Linked DNA regions of Homo sapiens: region 1 is linked to region 2. The links are contacts of gene promoters, found by promoter capture Hi-C in blood cells and fetal thymus (Javierre and others, 2016). All regions are on one chromosome and are shown on one strand. Each heading gives the region's core, a stretch centred on a gene start or on the middle of the fragment in contact. The rest is flanking DNA. Distances are from core to core; before and after follow the strand shown.

Region 1 (3,134 bases), core at 183-2,682, 950 kb after region 2:
TGTAATCCCAGCACTTTGGGAGGCCAAGGCAGGTGGATCACTTGAGGTCAGGAGTTCGAGACCAGCCTGGTCAACATGGTGAAACTCCATCTCTACTAAGAATACAAAAATTAGCCAGGCATTGTAGCAGGCATCTGTAATCCCAGCTACTCGGGAGACTGAGGCAGAAGAATCTCTTGAACCCGGGAGGCAGAGGCTGCAGTGAGCCGAGATCATGCCACTGCACTCCAGCCTGGGTGACAGAGCGAGACTCCTTCTCAAAAAAACAAACAAACAAAAAGCATACCTATTATGGCTACTTTTCAACCTGTTAAAAAATGACCACTAATGTTTTATTTATTTTATTTTAGACTCAACAGAAGAAACTATTGTTAAAACAGTGGTTGAGGAACTGGATCAAATTGGCAATCTCCTTTCACTGAGAGTCCACTCAGTTGAAGAAAAGTCCTCTAAAATAAGCAACATTACAGTAGAGCAACGAGTACCTTCTAAAGCACCATAATGAGGAAAAAGTTATTTGGAAAGAAAGAAAGAAAGAGAGAGAGAGAGAAAGAAAGAAAGAAAGGCTGCCTTTGCAAAAATCCTACTGGTCAAATAACCTAAGGAAATTATTCATTTCTGTTCTTAAAAGGGCTAGAATTTGTTCTCCTTCTCTTCCTTTTCTCATGTTCTATGCATGTAATCCTTTTCCAGAGTAGAAAAATCCTGCTCTGTCCCTAATTTTTGTTTTTATTTTGGGGGCCTTTTTTGACATTTCATTAAAAATTCTTCTATTGCAAGTTATTTTTTTTAATATCTGATTCTTTTTAATTGCTAAAGTTGATCCCAATGTGGCAATACTAAGGACCTGCTAATAAAATAATGTGTTTCATTTCATAGTCACAGTTACCTCAATTAATAACAGAATAAGGTGGAAAGAGCACTAGCTCTAATGTCTGGTCCCAAATCTGTCCCTGATTGACTACGTAAATAAGTTGATCTTCTTGGGTTTGAGTGTCTATGGACATAAAAGAAGAAGATAATACCCACTGATCACTAGGATTTGTTTACCCTTACAATGCCTAGCCTGGGTGATCAGCAAATGTTTGTTGTAAAATCTGAACCTGGAAAGCCGTTTTTCCATTTTCCAGCACATGCATCTCTCTGCCTCTACCATGGTAATGACTAAGCAAATTTAGAACTAAAGCCTAGGGGTGGTTCTAAATCTTGCTCATATTCTCCTGCACACAAAATTCTGCCTGACATCCTTACTAAATTATTTTGGAAAGTGCAGCTGGGATTGGAAAGCAGCAAAGTTCTAGGCTAAAGAGGTTTTTTTCATTTGGAGTGGAATGAGGCAGTGACCTCTATAATCACCTGGATTTCCAACTTGCATGGCAAGAACAACATTGAAAGGTTTTAATCAACTGGCATATAGACAATGCAGGATTCAAAATGGCCCATGAAGACTGAACTGCACCATTTCAGGGTGCTAAACCCTCTGAGGTTGCATTTTACAAGTCTCAAATATAGGCTTGGTCACCATTATTTCCTGCTTCCATATAAGGTAGTTGACCTTAGCCTGATGACACTTTCTGGAGATGTAGATACAGCTGAAAATTCCTTTTGTCAGGGTCTTCCTGTGATGAATGGTCCCAACCATGATGACAAAGGCCATATTTCAATGGTATGGAGTTAGATTAAGTCTGGTTAGAAGCACTTTCAATTGCAGAACTATAGTGACAATATCTTACATTTACTGAGTGTGTTTTAACTCACTTTATATACATTATCCAATTTAATTTTCATAAATGCTTATGAGGTAGGTGTTTTATCATCTTTATTTTGTATATGAGGAAAACAGATACTCAGAGATTAAGGAATTTCTCCAGGGCTACACAGCTGATGTGTAGCGGGTCTTAGATGCAAATCCAGCTCTCCTCTGCCATGGTGATTTGAGTTCCATTGAACAGAACAAAAATAAGCATAGGAATTCACTATTTTCACACTAAGTTTCCATTACCACCCAAGAGGGACCACAATCAGGCAGACTTTTATGTGCTTGACTATCAATGATACAATGAAAGCCAGGAGTATGGCTTTCAGTGCAGTGGCCTGCTTGTAACATAAAACAAGCATGCTTGTAGCATGACTACAAATCTCTCAAGTATGTATGCCTACAGTATGCCTACTGCATTCTACAGTGTATAGCATGCCTACAGTATGCCTACAGTATGCTGAAAGATGTCTACATTATGCCTACAGTATATCTACATTATGCCTACAGATACCTACAGCATCCCTACAGAAAGCCTACAGCATGCCTGCAGTATGTGTAGTCTTTTCCTATCTGCTAGTTACCCATCTCCAGCTCCTCTCCCAGCACCTCCCTTTTCTGCCTCCATATTTATTAAGTCCTGGTTACCAGATGCCCCCTCACTTCTGCTACAGTTTCCATCACTATGCTTCATTACTCTCTCATTCTGACAGGTAGGGTCTCTCAGAGGCTCGATACCCCAAGAATTAAAAGAGTAAAACTACATTATCAGCTCTCCAAAGACACTTGCTTAACTCACCACCTTAGAAACACAATGTTGACCCTCTTTCTCTTGTGCCACCAGTACTATTCACTCTTTCTTATTCCCAACAGAGGTCCTATTCTTTCCAAGAACAATTGGGCCAACTTCCATTTTTCTATATCCACTCTTTCTACTTAAATAGATTTCCCTATCTAGATAAGACTGATTTGCACTTAATACAAGCATAACCCATGACTCCAAAATACATGCTGTTGATGAATCAACCATACTTCTTGAAATGAAGGCTGGAAAGTTTACGTACTCAGCTTTGTTTCCAAAAAGTTAGTATTAGCAAAAAAATGAAAAAAGTGAAAGACTGTCACCAACACTTGACAAATCCCAAAAACTTTTATGGGACATCCTTAATTGTGAGCTACCAATTGTGAAACTAAAGACAAGATAAAAAGAAATCCACATGTAGAAAAATCATAGTAAAACCACAAAATAACAAACAAAAGACCTTAAAAATCAGCCATATAGGAAAATAATGATTACTTTCAAATGAGTAACAGTGAGATACACAGTGACTTCTCAACAGCAACAATGGAAGGCAGGAGACAATAGAACAATATCTTC
Region 2 (3,333 bases), core at 596-3,095:
AAAAGTGAAACTTTTAAATAGTAATACCAAAGGAACATGGACATCCAGCTGTGTTACAGACCGCATGTTATCACTTTGGAGACTGCAGCACATTCAATGCTTGGCCAGCTCACACTGATTTTTGTGCAGCCCTGAGAGGAAAGGTTCTCCTGTCATTTTTGCTTAACTGAGGAATATCCTGTGATTATAATGAAGCAGTTAAGAAAAAATTAAGCTGTCACCATTAGCAATTATGTATCAGGGTGAATCAAGTTTGGGGAAAACATAATACAGAACTAAACTGGAATCTCAAACAAACATAAAATTCAAATGCTCATCTATTCCCTGGACTCACTATTTTTGTATGCTTTTGGTCTCACTATTCTGATTGGCTTTATCATAAGAAAATGATAAAAATTTTCTCTTGTCAGAATACATTTGTATTAATAAAATACTGTACTGCTTTTAAGTTTTTCTTTTTTTCTTTTCTTTTTGTGAGACAGAATCTTGCTCTGTCTCCCAGGCTGGAATGCAGTGGCTGGCGTGATCCTGACTCGCTGCAGCCTCGACCTCTTGGGCTCAAGAGATCCTCCCACCTCAGCCTCCTGAGTAGTTGGGACTACAAGTGTGCACTACTATGCCCAGCTAATTTTTTTGTTTTTATTTTTAGTAGAGATGAGGTCTCACTATGTTGCCCAGGCTGGTCTGGAACTCCTGAGCTCAAGCAATCTGCTTGCTTCAGCCTCCCAAAGTGTTGTGATCACAGGCATGAGCCACGGTGCCTGGCCATTAAGTTTTTCATAATCAGGTTTTCTGTTAGGTTTTCTTTGGAAGAAAAGAATTCTGCTGCTGAAGAAATGTTTGAAAAATCAGTGATCTGGAGCTGTATTGTCAGATGCTAACCACATGTGTTGTTCAGTGCTATAGCCACCAGCCACATGTGGCTCTTTACATTTAAATTAATTAAATTAAAAAATTATGGTCAGGTGCAGTGGCTCACGCCTGTAATCCCAGCACTTTGGGAGGCTGAGGGGGTTGGATCACTTGAGGTCAGGAGTTTGTGACCAGCCTGGCCAACATGGTGAAACTCTGTCTCTACCAAAAATATGAAAAATTAGCTGGGTGTTGTGGCAGGCGCCTGTAATCCCGGCTACTCGGGAGGCTGAGTCAGGAGAATTGCTTGAACCTGGGAGGCAGAGGTTGCATGTCACTGCACTCCAGCCTGGGTGACACGGCGAGACTCTATATAAAAAAACAAACAACAACAACAACAAAAACTTCCTTACACTAACCCCATTTCAAGCGCACACGTGGCTAGTGGCTACCATATTGAACAGTGCAGATGAAGACCATTTCCTGCATCATAGGACGTTCTTTTGGATGGCACTGGTCTAGGAAAGGGCTTGAAGTGGGATCCAGGAGCTGTGGATTCCTATCCCAGCCTTGCCTAATAATCCCTGTGACTTTGGGCAAGTCACATCTTGCCTCTGGGCCTCAGTTTTCTTGTCTGAGAGAAAGGAGAAGAACCCCAGTCCTCCTCACCTCCCAGGGCTGGGAAGAGTGTGAAGGGATAGGCTAAGGGCAGGGCCCCGGCTGCGGCAGAAGGGCAGGTGGAAGGCAAGGTTGGGAATACCAGGGTAGGTACTGGAGCCAAGACCTAGTTCCATCCTGGGATAAAGAAAGGGTCCCAGCTCTGGAGACCCCAAGGGGTGAGCCCCAGACTCTGGCCAGTGGCCTGGTACCTTGATGGGGGAGAGGACCTGTCAACCCACTTCCTAGCCTCTCCCCTCTCCTCCTGGGTTTTCTCACCTGCAGAGCTGGGAGGTGTGTGGTGCCACGGCTGGGCCTGGTGCCTCTCAGGTCTCTGCTCTGCTTGATGCTCCAGGCCTGCCTTATAAAGCCCTCAAGGTCCCTCCCAACTGTCCCCCCACCCCGCCCCTACCCTGCCATATGAGTCCAGGCGAGAGGAATGGGGTGGGGCACAGGTACAGCCCATCACCCTGCCCCGCCCTTTCATTTAGTGTCAGTCAGTCATCCAGGATGTGGGGGAAGGATAGGGGAGTTGACCTTCATGGTGAGGGGCTGGAGCGGGGTGGCGGCAGCTCTCCAGCTGTACCTGAGGGGCAGGAACCAAGCTCCCTGGGTCAGGAGCAATGCTTCCCACCATATCCTGGGGGTCAGAGGCCTGGCACTTATCTCTCGAACTACATAGGGACCTTTGTGGGTGGTGGTAGGTGAGGGAGTGAACCCGATGGGCTTAGATTCAGGGAAAGTGGATTTCGCCATCCACTGATGTTTGGCAAGCGTGTGAATGTGGGGTGATGTATTGATTCCCCGTCCCCTCCACTGGACTCTGCAAACATAACGTGTTACCAGGAGCAATGGGTTGTGGGCTGATGGCCCTGTTCTCTCCTTCTAGTGGCTCACATCCTGGTCACCTCTGAAGTCCTTTCACCCTCCCCCTACCATGGAACACCCTTGGTGCCTTCTTCTCCTTAGGCCCTCTGTGCTGGGCTGGGTTTGGCTTGTAGCTGCCCCGTGTCTTCTAGGTCAGCTGCCCATGCACCACCACTTGCAAACCCCCTATGCAGAACCAATTCCTGGAGGGTCCTGCCTTTGAAGCCTCCTTCATTTTGCTTTCAAGGGGAGCTAGTAATCTGCATAACAACTTTTTTTTTTTTTTGAGACAAAGTCTAGTTCTGTCACCAGGCTGGAGTGCAGGAGTGCAGTGGTGTGATCTCGGCTCACTGGAACCTCCGCCTCCTGGGTTCAAGCGATTCTTCTGCCTCAACCTCCCTAGTAGCTGGGATTACAGGCGCACGCCCCCACGCCTGGCTAATTTTTTGTATTTTTAGTAGAGATGGGGTTTCATCGTGTTGGGCGGGCTGGTCTCGAACTCCTGACCTCATGATCGGCCCAGCTTAGTCTGCCAAAGTTCTGGGATTACAGACGTGAGCCACCATGCCCAGCCAACAACTTTTCAGTATCAAAATATACCTTCAAATGGTTAGCAAACAGACTAAAGCATTTGCCAAAGATGGACCAGAAAACAAAATGGTACCTTGTTGACTTATTTGATAAACTGCTGCCTCCACATGGTTTGACCAGATGTAATGAGCCGTAGGCTGTTTTTTACTTTTCCACTGTTGAGAGCAGAGATTTTGCTCCTGTTCATGCGTCATTGGGCCCCCACCTTTTCTGGGAGAGTTTGATCCCCTTGGGTATTGGGTAACTGCAGTGGTACCCATGCTTACAGCCAGCCTTGCTGAGAATTAATGGGTGATGAAGGAAGCAGGCTGTGCGGTGTCCATGGCAACTGACGGCTGAATAACCGTTGTGAATAACCACTCTCAT

The links. The method cuts DNA at HindIII sites, captures the fragments that hold promoters and counts their contacts. A CHiCAGO score of 5 or more calls a contact.
Region 1: a fragment that was not itself captured here is called in contact with the fragment with the promoter of GAST in region 2 in 1 of 17 cell types (non-activated CD4 T cells); the score reaches 6.2 in non-activated CD4 T cells.

Annotation. Positions count from the first base shown.
Region 1 is chr17:40,763,883-40,767,016 of GRCh38, reverse strand. KRT26 (keratin 26) reads left to right here. Exons shown (of 8, transcript NM_181539.5): 8 at 351-779. The coding sequence ends at 502. Among named protein-coding and RNA genes, the nearest start is that of KRT26, 6.8 kb to the left of the region's middle. The HindIII fragment of the contact is 4,417 bases long and covers 1-3,134 here.
Region 2 is chr17:41,710,843-41,714,175 of GRCh38, reverse strand. GAST (gastrin) reads right to left here and starts at 1,845. Exons shown (of 3, transcript NM_000805.5): 1 at 1,789-1,845. The HindIII fragment of the contact is 7,695 bases long and covers 1-3,333 here.